4 separate regions of the Homo sapiens genome follow, and all the other regions are linked to region 2. The links are contacts of gene promoters, found by promoter capture Hi-C in human tissues and cell types (Jung and others, 2019). All regions are on one chromosome and are shown on one strand. The core of a region is centred on a gene start or on the middle of the fragment in contact, and the rest is flanking DNA. Distances in the headings are between cores, read along the strand shown. Region 1 has its middle 150 kb from the start of GNAI1. Region 2 holds the start of MAGI2 (membrane associated guanylate kinase, WW and PDZ domain containing 2). Region 3 overlaps GNAI1 (G protein subunit alpha i1). Region 4 has its middle 79 kb from the start of GNAI1.

Region 1 (3,165 bases), core at 395-2,894, 530 kb after region 2:
CCCTCCTTTAATATAGGGTTTTTTTATATAGCTTCTTTTTTTCTGTAAAGGAGAAAAAAGTAAATATTTTAAGCATTGCAAACCATATGATCTCTGTTGCAACTACTTAACCCTGCTTTGTAGCAGGAAACAGCCTTAGATGATATATAAACAAATGGGTATGACTGCGCTCCAACACAGCTTTATTTACAAAATCAGGGAGGGGGATGTGCCATTTGATTCATATGTCACAGTTTGCTGTCTCTTTCCTTAGAATATCACTTTTAGCTCCAGTACTTATCTTACTAATATATTTTTTACGATGGAACATTAGTCATGTAATTAGAGAAACTTCAGGTTAATCTCAGGGTTCAATAATTTTCTAAAAGTATGACTTTACCGAACCTTCAATGAGCTTCTATATATATTATGTAAATCTCCCAAAAGTGAACATGGTATGCAGGATTTCCAAATGTATTGGGGTATGAAAATATTCTTAAGAGCATCCAAAGAGTATTATATCACAGAAAACATTTTGGAAAATTTAGAAATACCAAGGAAATGTCCATGTTGTATAATTTACAAAAAATTCAGGCATTGGCTATAAAAAGATTACAAATATTGTAGACCAATTTTGGAAAACAGTATTCATAGAAGGTGGAGCCCACTTGATGAGACTGAAGGGTATAGTGAAAAAAACTAAAAACTAAATAAAGAAGATGCTATGAGAAAGAAAAACAGGGAAGTATAAGTGTAGACTGGGGAAATAAGAAGGCCTTTTGATAGAGAATGAAACAGATACATTAAGAATCCAGGAGGGATGTGTGTACTTTTTGTGGGATAGAGTTGTAAAATACTGGAATTATATGCCAAGGGTAGTTGTGAAAAGACTTATGCCATACTAAGAAGTTTGGGCATTATCTTGAATGAAAATAAGAACCAGAAAATGTTTTTTTGATCAGAAAAGCAACATCTCCAGTTCTTTGTTTTAAAAAGACATCTTGGACATCAATTTAAAGAATGTGCTAGAAGGTGTCCAGAATAAATACTGAGATGCCAATTAAAAGAGTCCAGTTATCTAGCCAAGGGCATCGAGGCCTTTATCTACCAAAGTACTGGCAGTGGAACTTAGAGGAGGTGAAAGGTCAAAGAGATATGAAATATGTGGAATGAGGTGAATCTGGCAACTACTTGACTATGAGGGAATGAAGAGAGAGGAAATGAAATTTAAGATAACTCTGAGTTTTCTCATACAAACTCCTGAATGACCAATGATGCCATTAACAAACATTAATAATAAAACTAATACAAATAATATAGGAAGTACAGGTTTGAAGGTAATACATTGTAAATCCTAAAAAATGTTGGAATGTATTTGGAATATAAACTACTAGTTATTTTCCCTTTTCATTTTGTAAAGTTTGTGGAAAATTACTATTTAGAATGTTGGAAATGTTCTGTTTTGTAGAATAGGAATTGTTGAATTAAGATGAGCCTAATGAAAATATTTATCAACAGACACATATATAAAATAAAGTGTGGCAGATCAAAGTCTGCTTTGTTAAAGATATTTCTGATAATTTTTCATGATCAAGTATTATTCTTAAATCTAAGAATTTAGGGCTTGGAAGAAAGCCCACTGTACTCTCACTGGATCCAATGTGAATCAAGTATAGCCTTCCCACCTACCCCATACTTGGTCCAAAACATTAGATGCATCCAGCATTTATTTCATAGAAACCATGATAAAACATTATTACTTGTTAAACCCTCATATGCGGAGAGACAGCAAAAAGTTCACACAGACTGTAATATAAATTTTGAAAATCAACTATGTCTTTTTAATTTTTACCCTCAAAATGCCCTTTCTTATTACCCTGTATCAGTGGTTTATGCCTTTGTATGTATTAAAACCACACATGAGGCATTTGGTAAAACATGTAATTCTTGGTTCTACTTTCTGATTCTATAAATTTTATAGGAATCCTAGGATACTGTATTTTTATTAAGTGCCTCAAAGATTTCTGAGGTATATGTTCCCTGTACAAGGGAGCAACATCCGTATATAAAGAACCATGCCAGAGTGCTTTATGCCTTCTGCTTCAGTTTTCTTGTTTTGAAGTTGTAATTTAGCAAGTGTTTCCATTTATTTTTGGTATGTTTTCAATCTTGCAAATATTTCCTTGTACTCCTTCTATAACGTGTCTTTCTGTTACTGCCTGGTCCTTAATGTACATACTGAGGAAGGGATATCTGGGGCCCAAAGGCAACTAATGTAATATCATATTTGCTGTCAGAAATATTTCCCCAAGGTAGCAAAATCACTCTCACATCTTGTGAAGAGTACATCAAACTGAATGAAATAGGCGTGAAGAATCAGAGAGACTGCAGTCATTATTTTGAGCTTATGTAGCTTTTAAATCTTAATATTTCCCTGAAATTTTTTTAGTAAAATAAAAAATGTGAGCATATTTTTTTACATCCAGCAATGACATATTTAGGAGACAAGTAACAGTAATGTCCATCCACTTAAGTCTTTCTGAATGAGTAGAGATGCATTGTGAAAAAAGTAATTTGCAGAAGCATTGACAAAATCCCTTCTGATTACCTTAATTGATTCTTTCTGAAAATCTCCATACTTTCCTCATTCTTTCCAAGAAACTCATGCTACGAAAATGTAAAGGGAGTGAACTCAACACCTAATCACTCAAGACTTCAAACTTAAACACATTCTCTAGGTCTATGATTCTCTGCACATTCTCTGAACAGATGCTGGTTTGCTCTAACTCATCAGACCAGCAGTAAGAAAGCTTCAGCTGACAAACACCAAAACCTTCTCTTGTCATTAGCAGTGGCTGCTGGAATAATAAAACATCTGGCATCTTCCTTTACTGATTAAAGGGGTCATTTCAAAGACCTGTCATCCAGCCCTTAGGCATAAAGACTTGAGCCTCCACATTTCTCCCCTTTAATTCATGTTTTGCAGATGCAGGGACACTCTACATACGAATTTATTAAAATAGGATAAGGCTAAATGATTACACATGTATTATGAGGGAGTGCTATAGAGGACCCTTAATCACAAGATCTTTATTTCTCTTGTAAAAAAAAAATCACGAATAGATTTAACAATTTGAAAAGATAATGAAACTCAATGTAAATAATACCATATGATTCATTCAGGAA
Region 2 (3,343 bases), core at 758-3,257:
TTTAGAGAATAATTTAACAGTGCGGTACATCTCCGTAAAAGCATTTCTTAGTAGTTGATCATGATTAAGCGGCAAAATGCAGGTAATGACATGCTCAATTCCACCTTTGAGTCAGGACAAACAGTGTACATCGACGACAACAACAAACCCTTATGCTAATATGCCTGTGACGCAAATATCCATACATACCGCACACGAATTGTGCAGTGAGCTAAAAAAGAAAACAGAAAAGAAAAAAGCTACTACTTTATTCTACTTAAAGTTGTCCTCTATTCAAACTTTTATCTCACTCTTCTCTCCTTCTGCACCATAATTTTCTTTCGAGCAAAGACAGGGAGTTCTGGATGATTCCAATCTCCCCAAATCCACATCACAGCCTCCAATTGAGGTTCATTTAAGTCAGGTTGGAGCTGAGGGAGCCTGGGCTGGAACCGGCCAGGGTTTCATCCAGCTCCTCCCCCAAAACACGCCCCCCAAATCGGAGCCAGAGGAGAGCCCAACCACAGAGGACTTCCACTCAATGAGGGCAACCCCTGAGTAAAGTCCATGCGGACAACCATTCATCTCCTCCGACAACCATTCATCTCCTCCGACCCCCGCCCAGCACTAGACTGCGCTCCTAGCACCGCGCCTTCTTCCGGAGCCTCCTCCCCCGGGCTGGCTAGGGGTGAGCGCAGGGGTTAGTCAGTACGCACGTGACGCGCGATGCCCACATGACACGACCGTGAGCGGGGGAGGGGGACACGGAGTGAAGAAGGGGAAAAGTTACAGAAGACCCGTCAAAGCGCCCAAAGCAATTTGTCCCTTCTTTTCTTCGCCAGCGGTGGCTCACGGATCCCTAAGGGACAGCTGGGGACCCAGGCGCCCCCAGCCCAGCCCCAGAAACGCTGGACGCAGTTCTCCGCTCACCCCACCACCTTCTCTTCCCAGACCCGCTGGTGATGCCGCTGCACCCTGAAGTTGCTCCTTCCTTCTTTCCCTCCCTTCCTCCCATTCTTTCTTTCTTTTCTTCCTTCCTCCCTTCCCCAAAAGCTCTTCATCCGCTTCGGGTGATGCCACTGACGCACATTCAATTTGCCCCAGCAGCTCTGAGGAGGTCAGACCAGGCCGAGCACCTTCCAAAGGGGAGGGTCTAACTGAGCAAACAAAGTTGCACGCCACACCACAACCTGCCCCTCCCCTCCCTTTAGCCCCCAAGTCGAATCCCCGGCGAAACTCACTTGCACTGCGGGTGCTCTCTGGCCCCCACCCCATCATCGCGCAACACACCCCCTTCAACATGCGCGGCCACCCTTTCATTGCCCTGCGCCCCGAGCGGTCCCACCGCCCGGCAAAACACTGAGCAAGCCGCTGCTCTCACCTTGCTTGACACACTTGAGCCGGAGGGGGTCCTTGCAGTGTTTGATCACGGCCAGCACGTCCCTGATGGTGAGCCCCGCCACGGGGGTCTCGTTCACCTCCAGCAGCAGCTCCTCCGACACCAATTTGCTGCCGCTCTCATAGGCCACCTTGCCGGGCTTCACCTCCCCCAGGTAGGGGAACTGTCCATTCTCGGCGCCCCCCTTCAGTTCAAAGCCCAGCTGGCCCTCCGGGTTCCTGCCAATGACACTCTCATGGACTTTGCTAGTCCAGTGGCTTTTCTTTTTCAAGCTTTTGGACATGGCAGTGGGGCGAGTCGCCTCAGTTCCTGGGCTCCTTGGGGTTAGGGGGGCTGGTGGTGAGAGAATGAGGATGGAGGAGCAAGGGGGCCCAGGGGGAAGAACAGCAGACTTTGCCTTCGCCCCCCTCTATTCGGTGCTTTCCCTCTTCTTTGGATGGAGTGTGGACGAGGAATGGGGAGGATGAGAGGGACGGCTGGGCAGAGGTAGGAGAGCTTGGATGAGGTTGTGCTGTCCCTTGAATGACACTCAAGGCTGTGGCCCCGCAGCAGAGGAAGCAGTGGTGGTGGCGTCGGCGGCGGCGGCGGCGGCAGCCGGAGCGAGCAGTAGCCGAGCTGGTGAGCGGGTGTGGTGGGGGTGGGGAAGGAGGGTAGGGATGCCGGGGGCCACTCCTGCGTGGTGCGAGTGGGAACGCGCGCGCGCGCCTGGGTGTGTGTTGTTAGCTGATATCCATGGCAGCTGCAGTGGCAGGGTGCGTGTGCGTGTGTGTGTGTGTGTGTGTGTGTACTAGTTCTACTGTACTGGCAGACGGGAGGAGGCAGGGGAGGAGGGGCGCGCGCGCCGGGTGGGGAGCCACGGAGGGCTTCGCCGCTGCCTCCCTCCCTCCCTCCGCAGCTTGACCCGGTAGTGAAGGCAGAGAGAGAGGCAGGCTGGGTCCGCCTGGCAGCCTACGGGAGGAGGCGGGAGCCGGGAAGGAGGGGAGCCTAGGCCCGGCGTGGGGAGGCCGGCAGGAAGGGCCTCGAGCCCAGTGCGGACCTTTCTTCAGCCTCTGTGCGACCGAGCCGCGCGCCAGGCTCCTGTGCGAGGAGGACGCGCTGACTCCCTCCGACCTGGGCTCCGATGGAGCAGAAATAGCGGGACCTGGACTTGTGGCGCGCCTGGTGCCACATCTCGGGCTCTGCGAGCGTCCTGGCGCGGGATCCTGCCGTGAGAAGGAGTTGGGGCGGGGGACCCGGCGGGGCATTGCGGGAGAAGGCCTGGGATCCCTGGGAGCCTTGTAGCGTGGGGGAGTTCACTGTGTAGAGAGGTTTCATGTCTTCATCTATATAGTCACTTATTTGTCTTAAAGTTCTCGAAATTCCCTCTTAGAGAAGGAGAAAGTTAGAGAACTGGAGGCTGCGTACCCTGATTACGCAGAAGGGAAGCAGCCTCGCATTCCCCGGGGCAGGCCCCCGCCCGCGCGTCCCGCCAGTAGGGGAATTTAGCGGACGGCTGCGGTTGTCTGGTGAAAGGCTATCCAAGGATAAGGGGCTTCACTTTTCCCAAGTAGGGGAAAGAGAAGGGGTCTACAGGGCTAGGGGTGGAGGGAGCGGATGCAGTGAGCAGCCTCCGCAGAGAAATTGACAATTTAACCAGGGACCTGCGGCAGAGACAAGGCGGAGACACTCCCTTGCCCAGGAAAGCCGCCAGAGTCCGGCTTGTACCTGGGGAAGAATCCTTAAGACGGTCTGGCCCAACACTCCTTTGCTCACAGAGAAAGGGGAGAAGACTCCCGAGGGTGAAAATGGTACATTCGGAGCTGGAACTCAGCTCGCTGACCCCAAGCAGTGTTCCCTTCTTTTCGCCAGGTTTGCATCCAAGAGAGGGGAGGACAGGGGCAAAAGGATGCAGGGAGGCTGCTGATTTCCACTGAAGAGCTAATTTCCTGTGAGACATTAACAGTGATTTAAGAAAAAGATTCCTGT
Region 3 (2,958 bases), core at 399-2,898, 690 kb after region 2:
CTTGGGGGGTGGAGGTGGAGGTAGCTTGCCTCTCAGATATTACTTTGGTTATAAATCTGTCAGTTGTTTTCATGTATTTCTGAACCTACTATTTAACCCTTACTGGGTGTAAGCTTTGTGTTGTATGGAAACTTATAATGTAGAAGAGACTTTGCTATCTATGAATTTAGTTTTCTAACATTTTCCATGTCTAAGGAATTTTTTTCCCCTCCAAGGTTTATTTAGCTCTGTAGAAAGGCTTTCCAGAGAGGAAAGGTGAGTTGACTTAGAACTCTGGTGGTAAAAGTTTTCCCATGAGACCTTGGGCAAGTTACCAAATTTTATAAGCTTCAGTTTTTTCTTCTATAAATGCTGGATAATAAATATATCTACTTCATAGGGCTAGTGACAAAGTAAGCTAATGCATCTGAAGTACTTAGAATACTACATGGTACATACATTCTTAATAATTATAGGCTATTATTATAAATACTTCAGAGACTCTGTGGAATCAGCCCTCCCTTGCAGTTTCATCCATTTGTGGTCATAGACATTAAATTCTTTTTATTGGCTTTTCTTAGCAAGGATGTGTGTGTGTGTGTGTGCGCGCGTGTGTGTATCTATATGTGTGCATATATGTGTGTGTGTGTATATATATAGTGAAGACTTCAAGAAGTATAAATTCAGTTTTAAACATTAGTTTCTAATCCCACCGTAACTTCCTTGAGGGACTTGGATTTCTCTTTAACAGCCTCCTTACTGGGGCTAGACCAGGTAAATATCTGTGCTGTGTTAAGAATTCTATAGAGAATGCACTTTACATAATCAGAAGATTTTACAAATGTTATAGCAGTAATTTTCTCTTCATTTTATTATCCATTTTTAGAATTAGTGCAGTGGCTTTTTGCAAACTTTTTTTTTTTTTTGGAAAATAAAGCTGTTAGTGTAAATTATGAAACGTTAAGTTTATTCAAAAGATGGTGCCATTTCTCAGAGGAGTTTGACAACTTTCCACAAAATATAAAATCCTTTCTAAAACTTCCTGCACTGTTGACTCAAAGAGATTCCTGATAGAACTCCAGGATTATAACGGATTTACTTTTAGGAGAAGAATGTCTTTAAAAGTGGTGGTAACCTTAATAGAGAAACAGTGAATTGTTGAATCTGTGATAGTATTTGTGCCTTTTAATAAATTGTAAAATGAGTTCCTTAAGACTTACATCTTCAGTTGTATGAAACTCCTCCTGTTACCCTTGCCTCACTAAAGTACAATCCAGAATTTTTTCTAGTAACTGATCTATATTATTCATTTTTCTTGTTTGGGCACATACATCTTATTTGACAGCCGTTGCTGAAGGCTTACTAATTTTGTTCTTCATGGTATTTAAGAGGGATGGAACTTGTAAGTAAACTTACAGTTATAATCAATATAATGTAGTAGGAGTTAAACTGCCTTCTTATATGGTTCCGAAGTTAATCTAATTCCAAGAATTACATTTATTTCGGTATAGCTTGAAATTGATCCATGTATACTAGCTCACTTAAGTTTTCACAAACTGAGCACATTCAATCAGCAATCAGATCAAGAAATGTATGCAAGGTATATTTTGTTACTGTAAAAAGTAATGGTGGTCAGTAAAGTTGCTGGGACTATAAGATGGTGCTCCTCTAATTCAAGACCAACACTGAGCACTTGCCTCCATCAATTCGTCCTCTCTTGCCTCCAGCACCTTTTTCCATCCACCTGATCCACTAGCATCTTCATACTGCTTTAAAGACTCCTGTGTCCTGGTCTCAAGTCATGCCTAGCTTTAAAAGTGATAAAATCCAAGTAATACACCCCTTAAGTAATTTTTAATCTATTTTTTTATTTAAACTTTTCAGAATATTCAGAAAAATAGGCAGTGTTCATATTTTTCCTTTTTCACTTTGCAGTCACTCTTTAAATTACTTTCTGCTTTAAATTATTGACTTTCTGATTGATATAGAAGTATTGAGAAATAGGCAGTCATGTAACCATATCAATCTATATATTTTTTAAAGAGGTAATGTGGTGTTTATTCCCGTGTACTCTTCTCCTTCTGGAGTTCCTTTTATATGAAGGTTGGGCTTCTCATTCGAACTTAATTGTAACCTCTTTGTGGTTTTTATCTTTTTGTGCTACTTACACATTTTCTAGGTTCATTTTTATCCAGTTGGTAATAACTAATCTACCTATTAATAGATTGAGCTTTACATTTTAGTGGTGAAATTTCTATGTCTAAAAACCATTTCTAATCTTTAGCTTGAAAAAGTGTCTGTTATTCTACTTCTTTATTTTCTGGCTTTTTCAAAGCCATTTTCATTATATTGTACCTATTTCATAGTCTGAAAAACGATTTTTGAAGTTCTTGAGCTTCAGCTATTTATGGTGTCTTGACTCTGTCTCGAGGTAAATTGTGTCCTCTTATAATTTTTCATTTGTGAGCATATATTAAGCAGTACGTTGTCTGTGTGAATCCTGTACACCCTGGGTTGGCTGCAGTTTTCCTTTCAATCTCGTGGATGCTGTGTCCTTCTTACTTGGTTTTTCCCAGGCAGCCCTTTCCTGTAGAGCCAGTATGAGGTAGCCAGGTTCTCAGCTGTTTCGAGTGCTTTGCCTTCTCTGGTTATCTCAAGCATCAGGAAAATTATATGTTGCATACATTCCACAGAGGTCCCATGGTGATGGGGAAAGGTCAGCTCAGGCATTCCCTCTGCTTAGCCACACTTCATCATACTGCTTGGATACATGTTGCTGCCTAGGAGACTTTCTTAACCCAAACAGGCCCCACTGCCTTTAGCAGTTTCTTCATCTTCTCTGACATACAATTCAGCTTTGGCCCAGAGTGGAGATTAAGATATGGGTCTGACTCTGCCTCTCTTTTCCCTGTGTGACTGCTCCAGTTGCTCCTAACTGAATGCCCTGTAGCTCCCAAGCTTGCAGGCTCTGCCATGGGA
Region 4 (3,118 bases), core at 411-2,910, 600 kb after region 2:
ATATTTCACATACCATACAATTCTCCCATTTAAAGAATACAATTTAATTGTGTTTAATAAAGTCACAGAATTGTTCAACCGCTACCACAATCAATGTTAGAAAATTTTCCCACCCAACACAAAACCTCATACCCTTCTGCAATCATCCTACCATTTCCCACAGTCTCCCAAACCAGCCATAGACAACCACCGATGTACTTTCTCTCTCCCTGCATTTGCCAATGCTAAGACATTTCTAATAAATCGAATCAAACAATATGTGGTCTTCTGTGGCTGGCTTCATTCACTTAGCATCATATTTTCAAGGCTCATCTATGCTGCAGCATGAATAAGTATTTCATTCTTTCTTATTGCCAAATAATATTGCATTGTATGACTATACTACATTTTATTTATCCATTCGTCTGTTGGGCCTTTGGATTATTTCCACCTTTTGATATTATGAATCATGCACTTATGGACATTTGTATACACAATTTTACATGGACATATGCTTCCACTCTCTTGGGCGTATACCCAAAAGGGAAATTCCTGGATCATATGGTAACTCTAGGTTTAACCTTTTGAGAAACTGCTGAAGTGTTTTTCAAAACTGTGACCCATTTTTCATTCCCAATTCTAGTTGTATGAGTCTTCACCTCTTTTTTTCTTGGTCAGTATAGACAAAGGTTTGTCAATTTTGTTAATTTATTTTAAAGAACCAACTTCTGATTTTATTTTTTTCTTTTGTTTTTCTATTCTCTATTTCTTTTCTAACCTCATTTTTTCCCTTCTGCTTGTTTCAGGTCAAGGGGTGTTTGAAGATGCTAGGTCAATACATAGGTTTGAAGAAATAAATATTTTGATTGTGTATTTACATGACTGTCTTCTCATACTCTGGATTTGAGGTTTTGGAAATCAGGAATTCTGACTTATTCACCTTTGTCTCAATTCCTGTTATCTTTGCCACAAAGTACTGCAAAAAATATGGATAAACAATTAAAACCATGTTCTTGAATGCACTGAGGAACTAACAAGAAAATTGGGGATAATCAGAGAGTGAGAACAAAGTTAAATTAGAAAATTAGAAACAGGTAAGCAACAAGCCATTTTCACCTTGACAATATCAACCAAACAAAGCAAGGTGAATTGAGCTTTAGTTTTCACTGACCTATAGGAGTGAAACAGAATACTGTGAAAGGTAGGAAATCTGGCAAAGTAACGAGGTGGGTCCAATAAACTATATATACACCTGCTTCCCCAGGGTAATGGCAAGGGAAGACACATATTACAAACGTATCTATAGAATATTCAAAGCATACTAAAATAAAATGTATTTTTGATTATACATACATACGTGGTAAAACTATGAAAACTATGAAAGCAGGCAAAAGAATGATAAACACTAAATTCTGATAACGTTTCCTCTGAGCAGAAAGAGAAGAGAATAGGTTACACGAAGACACATAGGGATTTTAAAGTATATGTTAAAAGAATTTTCATAAACTGGACAGTAAAATGTAGTTGTTCATGTTATTATTATTGTACATTTTAAATAAATGTTTGGTATTTTACAACATCTGATTTTAAAAATTAAAAATAAATATACATAGAAGGAAGCCCATAGATCATTGTAAAAATAATATGAAACCTAAATAGTTGAATGACCAACTCAAGGTCAAACAGCTTGTTAACAAAGTCCAGGATTAAACTAAGTTTTATTTAATAAGTATGCATAAAACTTTTGGCCAGGCATGGTGGCTCACACCTGTAATCCCAGCACTTTGGGAGGCCGAGATGGGTGGATCACCTGAGGTCAGGAGTTCAAGACCAGCCTGGCCAACATGACAAAACCCATCTCTACTAAAAATACAAAAATTAGCTAGGCATGGTGGTACGTGCCTGTAATCCCAGCTACTCGGGAGGCTGAGGTAGGAGAATCGCTTGAACCCAGGAGAGGGAGGTTGCAGTGCACTGAGATCATGCCACTGCACTCCAGCCTGGGCAACAGAGAGAGGCTCTTTTAAAGGCCATCTACAAAATGGTATAATTTTATCACTAGGAAAAATGGCTTAAAATAGCAATAATGTAATTGGCCATACTCTGCTAACCATGACAAGTTTTATATCAATTGAAATTCTTATTAAATGTCCTTAAAAATATAGCTACAACAATTTGCAAGAAGATTTATCCACTTGTGGCTCATTTGCCGCAAGTCCCCAATCCCAGGTTTACTTTTCCTATTCACAAAACATTCTTGAAAAGTTGCACCCTACTGCCTTGTGTTGTCAAGATGTGTAAGTAACTTTCAATATTAGAAAAATAGTACCAAAAATTCATAATGGAATATAATCTCTTCATATTTTCAAAAAAGAATAAATCCACATACATATAACAGGCATATGTGGACTTTTTGTGCAAAGAATCACAAGAGTTGGTAAATTTTTGTTATGTTTATTTTACCACAATTTTCAAAAGTGGTTTTAGTCAGCTATGGGAGCTTAAAGAAATAGATCATAAAGGAAAAGTCAGACAAAGTTGATTCTAGCATTGTTAAAAGGGCAGTTCTCAAAGGGCAGCTCCTGGACCAGCAGTATCAGCAACAACATCATTATCACTTGGGAAACTGTTAAAAATGCCAGTTTAGCAATTTATGTTTCAATGAACCCTCTAGGTGTTTCTGGTACTAGCTGTGAGAATCACTGATCTATTATATAGTCAGGCTGAGAGCTATCAACTTCAGGGCAGGGATTTGCAGCCCTAAGACATATTAGAATCACCTGGAGAAATTATAAAATGCTGATATCTGGGGCCTATCCCAAATTAACTTAATTAGAATCTCTGGAGGTGCAGCTGCTATGAAAAACAGTCTGAGGTCCTCAAAAAAAATAAAAAATAGAGCTACCATATTATTCAGCAATTCCACTTTTCAGTATGTATACAAAAGAATTGAATCAGGATCTTGAAGTGATTATCTGCACTTCTATTTTCATTGCAACATTATTCACAATCGCTAAAGCATGGAAGCAACCCAAGTAACTGTTCATTGACAGATGAATAGACTTTAAAAATTTACACACACACACACACACACACACACTGGTATACTATTCAAGCTTTAAAAAAAAGGATATACTGG

What was found. The method cuts DNA at HindIII sites, captures the fragments that hold promoters and counts their contacts. A contact is called where the count stands out against the background at its distance.
Region 1: a fragment that was not itself captured here is called in contact with the fragment with the promoter of MAGI2 in region 2 in 3 of the 25 tissues and cell types used here (IMR-90 fibroblasts, lymphoblastoid cells and small bowel).
Region 3: a fragment that was not itself captured here is called in contact with the fragment with the promoter of MAGI2 in region 2 in 1 of the 25 tissues and cell types used here (hippocampus).
Region 4: a fragment that was not itself captured here is called in contact with the fragment with the promoter of MAGI2 in region 2 in 1 of the 25 tissues and cell types used here (IMR-90 fibroblasts).

Annotation. Positions count from the first base shown.
Region 1 is chr7:79,979,484-79,982,648 of GRCh38, forward strand. No RefSeq gene overlaps it. Among named protein-coding and RNA genes, the nearest start is that of GNAI1, 150 kb to the right of the region's middle. The HindIII fragment of the contact is 6,983 bases long and covers 1-3,165 here.
Region 2 is chr7:79,451,660-79,455,002 of GRCh38, forward strand. It overlaps MAGI2 (membrane associated guanylate kinase, WW and PDZ domain containing 2), which reads right to left and starts at 2,008. Exons shown (of 22, transcript NM_012301.4): 1 at 1,361-2,008. The coding sequence starts at 1,661. It overlaps MAGI2-AS3 (MAGI2 antisense RNA 3), which reads left to right and starts at 1,298. Exons shown (of 4, transcript NR_038346.1): 1 at 1,298-1,532; 2 at 1,928-1,996. RefSeq lists an enhancer at 454-748. The HindIII fragment of the contact is 8,431 bases long and covers 1-3,343 here.
Region 3 is chr7:80,143,339-80,146,296 of GRCh38, forward strand. The region is part of intron 1 of GNAI1 (G protein subunit alpha i1); the gene reads left to right. Among named protein-coding and RNA genes, the nearest start is that of GNAI1, 10 kb to the left of the region's middle. The HindIII fragment of the contact is 5,700 bases long and covers 1-2,958 here.
Region 4 is chr7:80,054,084-80,057,201 of GRCh38, forward strand. No RefSeq gene overlaps it. Among named protein-coding and RNA genes, the nearest start is that of GNAI1, 79 kb to the right of the region's middle. The HindIII fragment of the contact is 7,093 bases long and covers 1-3,118 here.